Linked DNA regions of Homo sapiens: region 2 is linked to region 1. Evidence: promoter capture Hi-C in 16 types of primary human blood cells and fetal thymus (Javierre and others, 2016). All regions are on one chromosome and are shown on one strand. The core of a region is centred on a gene start or on the middle of the fragment in contact, and the rest is flanking DNA. Distances in the headings are between cores, read along the strand shown. Region 1 holds the start of SF3B2 (splicing factor 3b subunit 2). Region 2 overlaps PACS1 (phosphofurin acidic cluster sorting protein 1).

The links. The method cuts DNA at HindIII sites, captures the fragments that hold promoters and counts their contacts. A CHiCAGO score of 5 or more calls a contact.
Region 2: a contact is called between a fragment that was not itself captured here and the fragment with the promoter of SF3B2 in region 1, in 1 of 17 cell types (naive B cells). The highest score is 5.1, in naive B cells.

The regions. Positions count from the first base shown.
Region 1 is chr11:66,048,511-66,055,261 of GRCh38, forward strand. It overlaps SF3B2 (splicing factor 3b subunit 2), which reads left to right and starts at 3,854. Exons shown (of 22, transcript NM_006842.3): 1 at 3,854-4,007; 2 at 4,163-4,209; 3 at 4,517-4,594; 4 at 6,566-6,751. The coding sequence starts at 3,875. SNORD13F (small nucleolar RNA, C/D box 13F) reads left to right here and starts at 4,634; the gene lies at 4,634-4,718. It overlaps GAL3ST3 (galactose-3-O-sulfotransferase 3), which reads right to left and starts at 651. Exons shown (of 3, transcript NM_033036.3): 1 at 501-651. RefSeq lists enhancers at 2,852-3,403, 3,222-3,271, 3,892-4,061 and a silencer at 3,472-3,681. The HindIII fragment of the contact is 3,706 bases long and covers 3,501-6,751 here.
Region 2 is chr11:66,165,617-66,173,011 of GRCh38, forward strand. All of the region lies in intron 1 of PACS1 (phosphofurin acidic cluster sorting protein 1), which reads left to right. Among named protein-coding and RNA genes, the nearest start is that of KLC2, 88 kb to the right of the region's middle. The HindIII fragment of the contact is 4,476 bases long and covers 1,041-5,516 here.

The DNA.
Region 1 (6,751 bases), core at 2,604-5,103:
GCCCAGTGTTGAGGGACGCTGACCCAGGGTGCTCCAGAGGAGGGGCGAAGGGCTGAGGGGGTCTGCAAAGTACTGGCCTGGGAGAGCAAATCTTTCCACCTCCCTCTTTTTCCTCCTCCCCCACCCCCCAGCCTGCACCAGGTCTGCCCCTGGCCCCCCAGCCTCCTCTCTCTCTCATCCACCCCCGCATCATCCCTGCCTTGGAATTCCCTCCATCCTCCTGTCTCCATTACTGCCCACCCGCACCATACCTCCCACTCCCTCAATTTCATCCCAGCATCCCCCAGGGATCCTGCCAGTGGGATCTGATCACCATAGGGGATAGGCCAGATTGGCCCGCTCACCCTATCTTCTCCCACTTTCCAGGGGTAGAGCGCCCCCCTCCTCATGCTTTCCAACCACTAGGCCCCCAAGACACTCTCCCGCCCGCCTCTCGGCCCCCATCCCGGTCTGGTCCACTCCCACCCCTCCAACCCCATGCCGGCCACTGCAGTACTCACACCGCACGCCTGGGCTCTGCCTCTGGCCCGGGTTGGGGGCGGCCGCCGCTATCTCTGGACCCTTGTCTCGAAATCCGCACGGGGTCCGAGGGTGCCCGGGGCCCTGCGCGCCGAGTGCCGGTGGCTTGCCTCTCAGCGCCTGGATGGGATCAGGTGGCAGCGTCCGCTAGGCTCGCTCCTCCCGGCTCTGCCCGCCCCCCGCCCCCCGCCCCCCATCGCACACCGGAGGAAGGCGAGGGGCGGGGCCAGGCCACGAGCAAGTAGGGGAGAGGGGAGAGAGGGGAAAGGAAGGGGGACGGGGGAGGGGGGGTGGTTCCCTGGCTTGCCCGCTGGCTGCCGTGAACAGTCTCTGGGTGGCATCTTCAGATGCAGTTGTCTTACTCTGGCAACCTTGCAGAGTTGGACACTAATGTGGCCAGCTCCCTTCTCTCACTCAGGCAGGGAAACTGAGGCCGGGAAGGTGTCTGGATACTCCTGCATTGCTGGGTATTCTGGGGCACCGCCGGTCATACGTGGGCTTCTGGGTGAGCCAGATGCTGGTACACGTGCAGGTACTCACATCCTCTGTCCTCCTCCAGTAGAGAAGCAGTGCTCCAGCCTTGTCTGGTCCCATCTCTGCCCACATGCCCCCTTCCCTTCCAGCGTGTCCCCCATACCCTCTGATGTAGCTTCTGGCTGCTCACCCATTTTTCCTCACTAGGACTCCAGACCCACTCACTCCTGACCAGAGCTATAGTGAGGCTGGGACCCCTGCCTAGGCACCTGCCACCAGGCATCAAAGAACCCAAGTTCAATCCTGGTTTGCTCTTAAATCCCAGAGTCAAGAGGCAACTCCCTAAGCCCTATTGCTTCCAGCTGTAAAATGGGAAGCTGTTCTGAGGTAGCAGAGATAATACACACGAAGGCTCCATGTGAACTTCTTAGTCCTCAGCTCCCATCACCTGGGAGCTGGGCAGCAGCACCTCCCAAAGCCATGCCAGACATCAAGAGCCCTACACTGAGTTCTGTGGCTGGCCTGCACACCTGCTTTCTATTTTGCTCTGGGCCTGGTAAAGCAAGGATCCTGGAGCTGGGTAGCCACCCAAAGGTGGGACTGGAAGGGGCTGGATACGCCCTTCTAGGCCCACATAGGAAATAGTGTGAGGGTCCTTGTTATGGTTGAGGAGGAGGAAATAGGGACTCTCAGAGTCAGAAGGACTGCTGGTGGCCCCAGTTTGGCCTCTTGGGCATGTCACCTTCTCTGCCCATCAATCTTCCGCTGTGTACAATATCGTGGGGGAGGAGGATCTTGAGACCTTGCCTCCTTCCCAGGGCTGTTATAAAATGAGACTCCAGGCCGGGTGCAGTGGCTCACGCCTGTAATCCCAGCACTTTGGGAGGCTGAGGCGGGCGGATCACGAGGTCAGGAGATCGAGACCATCCTGGCTAACGCGGTGAAACCCCGTCTCTACTAAAAAAAATACAAATAAATTAGCTGGGCGTGGTGGCGGGCGCCTGTAGTCGCAGCTACTCGGGAGGCTGAGGCAGGAGAATGGCGTGAACCCAGGAGGCGGAGCTTGCAGTGAGCGCAGATAGAGCCACTGCACTCCAGCCTGGGCAACTGAGACTCTGTCTCAAAAAAAAAAAAAAATAAATAAATAAATAAAAAATAAATAAATAAAATGAGACTCCATCAGCCTTTAGTTTATCCTGCCTCAGAGACCCCGCCCCCTTCCCTAGCACCTACACATGCCTTGGGGCCCTCAGCCTCAGATGACCTGCCCTGGGCTCTCCAGTTACAGGGAGCAGAAGAGCCTTCCTTTGGGCTAGAAAGGTTCTGCCTGAGTGGGCTGACAAGCTGGAGGGAAGGGCGCTGTTTTTCTGTCTTCGTTACTGTCCTTTCCGGGTTTGGCTTCTCCTCTGGGAGTGTGGCTGCAGGAGCCTCCCATAGTGATATTGATGGAAAGGGGAAAGGTCAAGGTTTGGGTAGGAGGAAGAGGACTTCCCACCCAGTGCTAGGATGTGAGCCAACCTTTCTCAACCCAGTCCTTTTCCCTGTCTCTCCCAAACCTCACCTTCCCCCGACCTGGTGCCCCATTCTTTTTTTTTCCCTGTTCCCAGCTTCTTCTCCACTGGGGGCAGTTGGCAAAATGGAGCTGGAGAAAAGATCTGAAGGGGATGTGTAGGGGGAAAATGAGACCATTTCACTTGAGTCTCCCCACTCCCTTTCTCAACACACATAAAAAACACACACAGGCTAGCTGTTGGTGAGAGGGCAGAGCTAGTGGCAGAGGTGGGGAGAGAAACTGAATTGATGGTGTGGGACAGGGAGAGGTGGATGCTAGGCAGGCAAGAATCCCTGCCAGTCTCTGCCTCTGTCTCCAAAGGCCAAGGGGAGTTGGGGTGGGGAGTGGGAGGCAAGGTGGGGCCCCCAGTGCAGGTGCGGCTGAGGGAAAAGGGCCTGAGTTTATTTTTGAGACTAAAAAAGACACAAATGCTTTCACCAGAAACATTGTTCCTTTTTTTCCAGTAATCATTTATTGGGCGCCTCTTGAACGCCAGGCGATGCGAGACTGAAAATGATCAAGTCCCTGCTCACATTTTTGGGATAGAGGTAGGAAGAAAGGGCAAGAAAGACTTAACAAACGGTGGAGATTCGAACGTATTATGGGAGCTCTAAGAAAGGAAAGGAAAGCGGGAGGAGGCTTAGTGGAGAAGACGACATTTGAGCCGGCCTGGAAGGTGGAAAAGGGGGCTTTAGAGTCGCCCTTCCCCCAGGTCGGCAGCTGGAGCTCAGCCCGGGCAGGCCTGCTGCTCTCCCGGCTTGGATCCCCTTTCAGCCCATTCATCCGGGCCTGGGCCGGGGGTGGGCGGGCAGACAATCAGACACTGTTTTATCCCAGGCATCGGCTCCAGCCTCCCGCTTGGCGCCCGCAACGCGGGGCCGCCGGGGAAATGAGTCTCTCGGGACTCCCTGGGAGCGTAAGCGTTCGAGGATCTGACCGGAGGGCCGGGCCGGAAAGCTTGAGAGCCTTCGCTCCCGCAGGTGAGGCGCAGAAAACACTCCCTCGGGGAAGTGCCAGCCCTCCTCGCAGCCCCGCCCTCCGGCCCGCCGCCGGCCTTCGGGGCCGTAGCGGCGCGCAGGGCCCGCAGAGACCGAGACCTGCGCACTACAACTCCCAGGAGGCCTCGCGACCAGACCGCCGAGGGGCCACTAGAGAAAGGTGCGTCTGCGGCGAATCCCGTCGCCCAGCGCACGGCAGCGGGTGTGCCTGAGTGCGCGTCGCCTCCCAACCAGAGAGGACGTGGCATACGGCGCCACCGGAAGTTCCGGCAAGTGGGCCCTGAGGCTGGCCCCAGCTTCCGGGTTGGTCGCGCGCCTTCCTGCGGCTAAGATGGCGACGGAGCATCCCGAGCCTCCCAAAGCAGAATTGCAGCTGCCGCCGCCGCCACCTCCAGGCCACTATGGCGCCTGGGCTGCCCAGGAGCTTCAGGCCAAGTTGGCAGAGATCGGAGCTCCGATCCAGGGTGAGGAACACAGGAAGTCGAGGGGCCTTTACGGGCCTGCGGAGAAGCGGAGCCTGGTTACCCGGGAGACTCGGGTGCGAGGGGCGGAGGCAGGCCGCTGGGGCCTGACCTGGCCGGGCTGGCCTGCCCCATTGATCGTGTACTTTGCCCTGCAGGTAATCGCGAGGAGCTGGTGGAGCGGCTGCAGAGCTACACCCGCCAGGTAGGTGTTGGCGGCGGGACGTCAGGATAGGCCGAGCTTCTCCAGGAGACCTTATATACCCCATCACGGCTCGGTCTTCATTCTTTCTTTATCTCGGCACAGCAAGGCGGAGGCTTGCCCTTTTTAGCTTGTTCTTGCCTTTGCCAGCTTAGTTGTAATTTCTTGTATCCATCTTGGTCCTCTTCAGTGCCCAGCCAGAGCGCTGGCAGACAGGCACTGGGTACGTTTTGTTGAATGAATTGGGAGCGAACGTCGTTTAGTGAAACAGCTAGTTTTGGACTGACCTAGAGTCCTTTCTCTTTTGCAGACTGGCATCGTGCTGAATCGGCCGGTTTTGAGAGGGGAAGATGGGGACAAAGCCGCTCCACCTCCCATGTCGGCACAGGTAGGGAGATTCTTCTGTTTTTTAAGATTCCATCTGCTGATCCTTTTGTAGTTCATGAGCATGATGATTGGGTGTTCACGTGCATGTGTGAGATGTGACACCCTTGCACATTACTCGCCTGACCTGAGTGGGGAAAAAAAAAGATTCCATATGTTCAGGGTAGCCCTTCCTCTCACTTGCAGTTGTTGGGCAGGGAGGTACTGCCATGACAGAATTGTGAGCTCTTCAGTTCTCTCTTTGATGCTGACACTTGCCTCCTTTTCCACTGTCTGCTTCTCCAAAAGCAGCTTGTGGCCGGGTGCAGTGGCGCATGCCTGTAATCCCACCACTTCGGGATGCTTAGATGGGACGATCGCTTGAAGCCAGGAGTTCGAGACCAGCCTGGGCAACATAGTGAGACTCTGTTACTACAAAAAATTTTAAAAATTAGCTGGGCACGGTGGCACGCGCCTATAAAGTCCCTATAAAGAGGCTCAAGGATTGCTGGAGCCCTGGGGTTGGAGGCTGCAGTGAGCTCTGGTTGCGCCACTGTACTCCATGTACTCCATCCTGGGTGACAGAATGAGACTTTGCTTCTTTAAAAAAAAAAGGGGGGAGGTGATGGGGGAGGGGCTGGGAGAGTGTCAGAAAAAATAGCTAATGCATGCCAGGCTTAATACTTAGGCAGTGGGTTGATAGGTGCAGCAAACCACCATAGCACACATTTACCTATGTAACAAACCTGCGCATACTGCACATGTACCCGAAAACTTACAATAAAATAAAATTAAACCAAAAAATAGGAAAAAAAAAAAAGAGGCAGGGCGTGGTGGCTCATGTCTGTAATCCCAGCACTTTGAGAGGCCAAGGCAGGTGGATCGCCTGCGGTCAGGAGTTTGAAACTAGCCTGGCCAACATGGCGAAACTCTCTCTACTAAAAATACAAAAATTAGCTGGGCGTGGTAGCACATGTCTGTAATCCCAGCTACTTGGGAGGCTGAGGCAGGAGAATCACTTGAACCCTGGAGGTGGACGGTGCAGTGAGCCAAGATCAAGCCCCTGCACTCCAGCCTGGGCAATAGAGCGAGACTGTCTCAAAAAAAAAAAAAAGAGGCAGGGCATGGTGGCTCATGCCTGTAATCCCAGCACTTTGGGAGGCTGAGGTGGGCGATCACTTGAGGTCACGAGTTCAAGACCAACCTGGCCAACATGGTGAAACCTTGTCTCTACTAAAAATATAAAAATTAGCCGGGCATGGTGGCAGGTGCCTGTAATCCCAGCTACTTGGGAGGCTGAGGCACGAGAATTGCTTGAACCTGGAAAGCGGAGGTTGCAGTGAGCTGAGATTGCGCCATTGCACTCCAGCCTGGGTGACAGAGCGAGACTCTTGTCTCAAAAAAAAAAAAAAAATACAGCTTGAATACAAGGAAGACTGACTTGTCCTTACCCAGCTGGAAGCAATCACCCTTTTCTTTGCCTGCCCCAGGCACAGTTCCCATGTTCTTTTGTGTGACATCGAGGGCTCCCTGATTTGATTTCACACCCCTTGCGTTTAGTAGTCATTGGGGTTTGCATTGCCCAGATACAGTGGTTCCTGTTTATGTAAGTCCTCTCAATTTCCATGTTCCTTCTGATCCAGGATTTGCCTCATTTTCTCTAAAGCAGTGGCTCTGACCTGGCATCTACTGATCTCTGTGTGTAGGATGAGGAGTCCCTAGATGGCCTCAGAGGCGTCTTTGAGTCTCCTAGAATTGTATGCAGAATCTATATTCAGGATATCTTTTTGGAGAGAGTGGATAGCTTCCTTTGGTTGGTGCCAGAAGTTAACATTCTCATATCTTTATAGAGCTGTGGAGCATTCTCTCTTATGGAGTGGTAACTATGTATCATTTGACTTAGAATTCCAGCTCCTGACTCAAAGTAGATCCCCCAGATATTTGCAGAATGAGTAGATAAATGCTTCCTAGTTTTATGATCATATTTTCTCCACAGCTCCCTGGAATTCCCATGCCACCACCACCTTTGGGACTCCCCCCTCTGCAGCCTCCTCCGCCACCCCCACCACCTCCACCAGGCCTTGGCCTTGGCTTTCCTATGGCCCACCCACCAAATTTGGGGCCCCCGCCTCCTCTCCGTGTGGGTGAGCCAGTGGCACTGTCAGAGGAGGAGCGGCTGAAG
Region 2 (7,395 bases), core at 2,029-4,528, 120 kb after region 1:
TTGTCTGATTAAACAGCACCACCATCCATCCACCCTGTTGCTCAAGCCAAAAGCCCAGAAACATATTGGAGTTTTTCTATTTGCCCCATACCCTGTGGGTATTTATATATATATGTATTAAGGGTAAAATATATATATGTATTAAGAGACAGTGATCTCACTATGTTGCCCAGGCTGGATTTGAACTCCTGGGCTTAAAGGATCCTCCTGCTTCAGTTCATCATCAGCAAGACCCGTCAGTTCTATCAGTGTTCCTGAGTTCCACACTTAAATCCAGCTTTACTACTGCTTCAGAACAAACTTCTTCCTGCCTTTCCTGGGCCACGCCACAGCCTCCTAACTGGTTTTCCTGTTTCCACTCTCCCCTTTCTTTGTCCATTATTCACCTAGCAGCAGGGCGATCTTGCACAAATCATTTTCTATCACCCCTTTGTTTATAATTCTTCAGTGGCTTTCCATCATAAACAAAATAAAGGTCCCTACTGCATAGTCCAGGCTCCGTTTGCCTCTGACCTCACATCTTTTTGTTTGTTTGTTTGTTTTGTTTTTGAGACAGAGTCTTACTCTGTCACCCAGGCTGCAGTGCAATGGCATGGTCTCGGCTCACTGCAACCTCTGCCTCCCGGGTTCAAGCAATTCTCATGCCTCAGCCTCCCGAGTAGCTGGGACTACAGGTGCCCGCCACTACACCCAGCTAATTTTTGTATTTTTTGTAGAGATGGGGTTTCACCATGTTGGCCAGGCTCTCTCGAACTCCTGACCTCAGGTGATCCACCTGCCTTGGCCTCCCAAGGTGCTGGGATCACAGGCGTGAGCCACCATGCACAGCCTGATGTCACATCTTACAGCTGTCGTCATTTGCCATGCACTAGACATCCTTGCCTTGTTTCCTTCAAATATCCCAGCCTCACTTTATTTAGGTTTCATCTTCTTTTTTAAAGTTTTACTCTATATGTATTTCCCTGCACAATTAATCGTTTATTTTTGCTTGGTTTTGAATTTGATATAGTACAATATTATAGGTAGTCTTCTGCAGCTTAAGCTTAGTTCATTCACTTTCATTGCTGGATCGCTTTTGATTGTGTGAATTTACAGGTTTGTCTACTCCTCTGACAGTGTACACTTGGGTTCTGATGAGAACAGTGCAAATATTGTCTAGTATATAAGGAACTTATAATGGGCCAGGCAGTGTTCTCAGTGCTTTTATATATATGGGCACTAAGAGCAACCCTATGAGTTGGTATTATTACGATGCTCATTTTTCAGATGAGGGAGCAGAGACATAGGAAGATGAGTAACTTACCCTTGTCATCTGGTAATGAGTGAAATTGCTGGATCATGGACTTCACATATGTTTAGCCTCAAAAGATGATGCCTAATAGTTTCTGAAGTGATTGTACCAGTTGATACTCCCACCAGCAGCATATGAGTTCCCATCGTGCCGCATCTTCACACACACCTAGTTTTGCCAAATTTGTGGGTGTAAAATGGTATTTTGATTTCAATTTGCATTTCCCCGATTCCTAATGATTTGAGCATATTTTTGTATATTTATTATCCATTAGTGTTTCCTCTTCCGGAAACATGGAGCGTCTGTTCATGTCTTTTGCCCACTTTTCCATTGATTTGTCAGTCTTTTTCTTACTGACTTATAGTTCTTTCCCTTTGTCAGTATTAGGAGTTTCAGTCTTCTCTGGGTTCATGGCTTTGGCTTGTCTTTTTTTTTTTTTTTTTTGTTGAGACAGGGTCTTACTCTGTGATCCAGGCTGGAGTGCAGTCATAGCTCACTGCAACCTCGAACTTGAACTCCCGGCCTCAACTGATCCTCCCACCTCTGCCTCCCAAAGTACTGGAATTACAGGCATGAGCTACCACAGCTGCCTTTGGCTTGTCCTTTGAGTCTCTTTTTGGTGTCTCTTGATGAATAGAAATTCCTAATTTTAATATAGTTGGATTTCTCATTGTTTTCAATGTCTTATTTTTAGAAATCTACTCTTACCTCAGAGTCATAAAAATATTGTCCAATATTCTAAAATTTTGCCTTTCACATATAAGTATTTAAGCTACATGAAGACTATTTTTATGTATGGTGTGAGGTGTGGATCCAACTTTCCTTTTTTGCATTTCATAGTTTATTTTTTTTCCCAGTTATTGAAATACTGCCTTTTTCTTATATTGTTTCTGCATGATTGTGGGATTATTTCTGGGCACTCTATTCTGTTTCATTGATCTTTTTGTTGTTCCTTCACTAATACCATAGTGCTTCAACTACTGTTTCTTTACAGTAAATCTAGATACCTGATAGCCTAATTTCCCCACCTTGTTTCTTTTCTTCAGGAGTGTCTTACAGTGGTGTGATCATGGCTCATTGCAACCTCAACTTCCCAGACTCAAGCAGTCTTCCCACCTCAGCATCCCAAGTAACTGGATGCCACCACCATGCCTGGCTACTTTTTAAAAATTTTTTGTAGAGATGGGGTCTCGCCATGTTGCCCAGGCTGATCTTGAACTCTGGGCTTAACTGATCTGCCCACCCTGGCCTCCCAAAGTGTTGGGATGACAGGCATGAGCCACCATGCCTGGCCTGCTCCTCCTTATAAATTTTAGAATTAGCATCTGTGGAAAATCCTGTTGGAATTTTGATCGGTGTTGTATTAATTTTTTATATCAATTTGGAGGAGAATCAACGTATCAATGCTAGAGTGTCTCTTGTGCATGAACATGGCATCTCTTTTGTCTTACAATGACATTTGTATACGTACAGTATAACTTACAACTCCATGCAGGTCTTGCACATCTTATGGAGCGAGACAGTGTAGAGACAGCGTAGAGTAGTGGTTTTAAGAGCAAAGGCTTCGGAACCAGGCTGCCTGGTTTCAGTCCTCACTTAGCTGCTTACGGTGTCATCTTGGGTTTCAATCCTGTTGGTTTCAATCCTCACCTAGCTGCTTACAATGTCATCTTGGGCAAGTCAGCCTCTCTGTGCCTCATTTTCCTCATCTGTAAAATAGGCGCTAATATTTCTACTTCATAGGGGCATATAGTAAATGCTCAGTTGTTGGTAGCTGTTGCTATTATTTTGTTTTATCCCTAGGTGTCTTATTTTTTGTTGCTTCCTAAATAGTATATATATATATGTGTGTGTGTGTGTGTGTGTGTGTGTATACATTTACACACATTTACATTTTTTAATTTTACATTTTTAAATTCTTTGTTGCTGGTGTTTAGAAATGCATTTGAGTTTCAGAAATCTAGCAACCTGGTTAATCTCTCATTAATCCTAATAATGAGAATTCTTCTGGATTTCCCAAATGGGCTATCATAAATCAACCTGCAGATAATGGCTTTTGTTTCTTCCATTTCAAACTTCATATTTTTATGTCTTTTTTGTTCTTTTACTGAGCTGGTCTTTTTTTGCTTTTAGCTGAACAGCCTTCTCAAATAGCTAGTCTTGACAACAGTATAACCTTGAATAAAAGTGGGACTGGTGAACACCTTGTCTTATTCCTAGTTTTTAAGAGAACATTCTAATGTTTCACTATTAAAGTGTTTGCTGTAGATTTCTGATGTGTATCTTTTATGTCAAGGAATGTATTCTATTCCAAGTTTGCTAAGAGGACTTATCATAAATGGATGTTGAGTTTTACCAAATGCTTGATATAAATCTGTTGAAATGATAATATATTTTGTCCTTTAATCTGTTAATGATGAAGATTACAGGCATTGGTTTTCTAATGTTAAAGCATCTTTACATTCCTGAAATAAATCTAAATCTAACTGGTTCATTACTTTTTTTTTTTGGAGACAGAGTCTCACCCTGCCACCCAGGCTGGAATGCAGTGGCTCAATCTTGGCTCGCTGCAACCTCTGCCTCCCAGGTTCAAGCGATTCTCCTACCTCAGCCTCCTGAGTAGCTGGGATTACAGGTGTGTGCCACCACGCCCGGCTAATTTTTTTTTTTTTTTTTTGTATCTTTAGTAGAGATGGGGTTTCATTCACCATGTTGGCCAGGCTGGTCTCGAACTCCTGACCTTGTGATCCACCTGCCTTGGCCTCCCAAAGTGCTGGGATTACAGGTGTGAGTCACTGTGCCCGGCTATTTTTTAAATACATTATTTGTTTTGCTAATATTTTGTTTTAAAATTTTTCATTACTGATCATAAAAGAGATTGGCTAATTATTTTTCTTTCTTGGGTACTGAGGTTATGTTAATTTTATGAAATGAATTGGAAAGTGTTTCCTCCTTTTGATCCTCTGGAAGAATGTATATAAGATTAAAATGATATTTTCTTTGAACGTTTGGTAGAATTTGCCTGTGAAGATAATCTGGACTTGGTGTTCTCATTTTCAGAAGAGTTTAAACTACTGACCACTGTCTTTAATAGTTGTAGAAACTTTCAGGTATTCTCTAGCTTCCTTAATAATTTCTGTTAAATTATATGTTTCTAGAAATCTACCTTTTTCATCTAAGTTTCCAGCTTTACTTGCATAAAGTGGTTTGTGGCATAGTGTAGTCTTATGAATCTTCGCTTAATCTGGAGTATGCTCCTTGAAAAACAATTCTAGGTTTCTAGATTTTATTAGCCTCTTAAGACTAATATATATATGCTTTCTATTCTGTGAAATTTGCTTTTATCCTGCTTTCTTTTAGATTTTTAGGCTTATTTGGCTGTCCCTTTATTTTTTACTTCTTAATGGCTGCTTAATTCATTAATTTCAGCATTTCTTCTTTTCTCATATAACTACTTAAAGCTGTTGTTTCCTTTAAAAAATAATAAAATAAAGTTTCCCCTAATACCTGCTTTAATGGCATAGCAAAGTTTTGATACGTCATATTTTAGTGTTTGGTTCTGAATATTGTCTGATTTATATTATAACTTCTTCTTTGACCCATGAGTTCTTTACAGGGTTGTTTTTATACTTTCAAATGCATTATCTTTAAAGTTATCTTCTTATTACTGATTTCTAATTTAATTGCATTTTAATGAGAAAAAGTAGTTCTCATATTACTGATTCTTTGAAATTTATTGGTAAAGGCTGGGTGGGCATGGTAACTCATGCCTGTAATCCTGGCACTTTGGGAGGCTGAGGCAGGTGGATAGCTTGAGTCAAAGAGTTCGAGACCAGCCTGGGCAACATGATGAAACCTCATCTCTGGAAAAAAAAAAAAAAAAAAATTTGCAGGGTGTGGTGGCATGCACGTTAGTCCTAGCTACTTGGGAGGCAGAGATTGCAGTGAGCCGAGATTGTGCTACTGCACTCCAGCCTGGTTGACAGAAAAAAACCCTGTCTCAAAAAAAAAAAAAAAAGGAAATTTGTTGGTAACTTACTTTATACCTAAATACAAGATCAGTTTTTGAAAACATTCTATGTATGTTTGAAAAGATTGTGTATTCTCTTGTTGTGGGGTTCCGGATTTCATGTGTTCGTTTGAATATTGGTAATGTTAGCATTTTTTTCTGTTTAATTATCAATTACTAAGAGAGGTATGTTAAAATATGCCCCTCTGATAAGTAAGCTTGTCACTGTCTTATACTTTTGTCAGTTTTTGTGGTATTTATTTTTAAGACATTTTATTAAGTTTATATAGGTCTAGAATTTTCTTCCTGATGATTCTCTCTCTAGTAATTCTATTTTGTCTAATATTATCTATTCCAGCTTTCTTTTGATTATTATATATCTGGTATAACTTTCTAGTCTTATTCTAGGTGAATCTTATGAAGAACATATAAGTAGGTTTTGTTTTATAAATCTAATCTATATCTTTTACCTTAGGAGTTTAATATATTTATACTTACTGTGGCTATTGATATCCATAGGTGTTTTTTTCTGCCATCTTAACTTATGCTTTCTATTTGTTCTTTTTTTGGGGGGGCGGTGTCTCTATTTCTGGATGACTCTTTAGCCTTCTTTGTCTCCTTTTGAATTCGTTGGTGGTTTTTCTCTCATTCCATTTTTCTTTTCTTTTCTTTTCTTTTTTTGAAACGGAGTCTCGCTCTGTCGCCCAGGCTGGAGTGCAGTGGCGCAATCTCGGCTCACTGCAAGCTCCGCCTCCCAGGTTCACGCTATTCTCCTGCCTCAGCCTCCCGAGTAGCTGGGACTATAGGCGCCCACCACCACGCCCCGCTAATTTTTTGTATTTTTAGTAGAGACGGGGTTTCACCATGTTAGCCAGGATGGTCTCGATCTCCTGACCTTGTGATCCGCCCGCCTCGGCCTCCCAAAGTGCTGGGATTACAGGCTTGAGCCACCGCGCCCGGCCTCATTCCATTTTTCTAAACTATGCATTCGAAAGATAGACATTCAACTTTTATTTTCTTAGTTTACTCTCAAGCTTTGAATGTGAATACTTAAGAGTTTAAAGTTAGTCAATTTCCATTCTCTTCTGAAACAATTAAAGGCCCTAAAAAATGCTTTAATTCAGTCAGTTCCTCCCACCACGCTTGCCGTACCGTTTACTGTGCGTAAATCAGACATTGCCATTCTTGTTTTATAAAAGCAATGTTTGTTTAAATTTCCCTATATTTTTACAGTTTTCTTTGTCCATCATTTATTTTTCTATCCTTGATCTTCTTTCTGGGACCTTTCCTTACTTTTACGGTATATCCTTAAGACACTTCATGAAATGTGTGAGCCAGCCTCCACGGTCTCCCTTATGACTGTGGCTCTCTGTGACTCACACGCCCACACCGAAGAGGGCTGACCTGTGTAAGCATTGGAACGTTGCAGCAGTGATGGAGCGTGACTTCTGAGGCTGGGTCATAAAATACGTTGCACCTTTTTGCCTTGCTCTTTCTTGGGCCACTCACTGTGGGATGCCGGCTGCCATGTCATGAGGTTATCAAGCAGTCCTGGGAAGATTCCATGTGGAGAGGAACTGAGGCTCCCTGTCAACTGCCAGTACAAACTTGCCAGCCTTGCAAGGCAGCCACACGGGCAGCAGATCCTGCAGCCCCCTCAAGTGACTGTAGCCCCAGCCACCAACTGGATGGCAACCTCACAAGAGATCCTGAGCTAGGACCACCTAGCCCAGCTGCTTCTGAATCTCTGACACACAGAAACTGTGAGATAATAAATGTGTTTTGCAGCCAGGTGCGGTGGCTCACATCTCAGCACTTTGGGAGGCCGAGGCAGCCAGATCACAAGGTCAAGAGATCGAGACCATCCTGGCCAACATGGTGAAACCCCGTCTCTACTAAACATACAAAAATTAGCTGGGCGTGGTGGCGCGTGCCTGTAGTCCCAGCTACTCAGAAGGCTGAGGCAGGAGAATCGCTTGAACCCGGGAGGCGGAGGTTGTAGTGAGCTGAGATCACACCACTGCACGCCAGCCTGGTGACACAGCGAGACTCTGTCTCAAAAAAAAAAAAAAAAAAGTGTTATCAGTATTGTTAC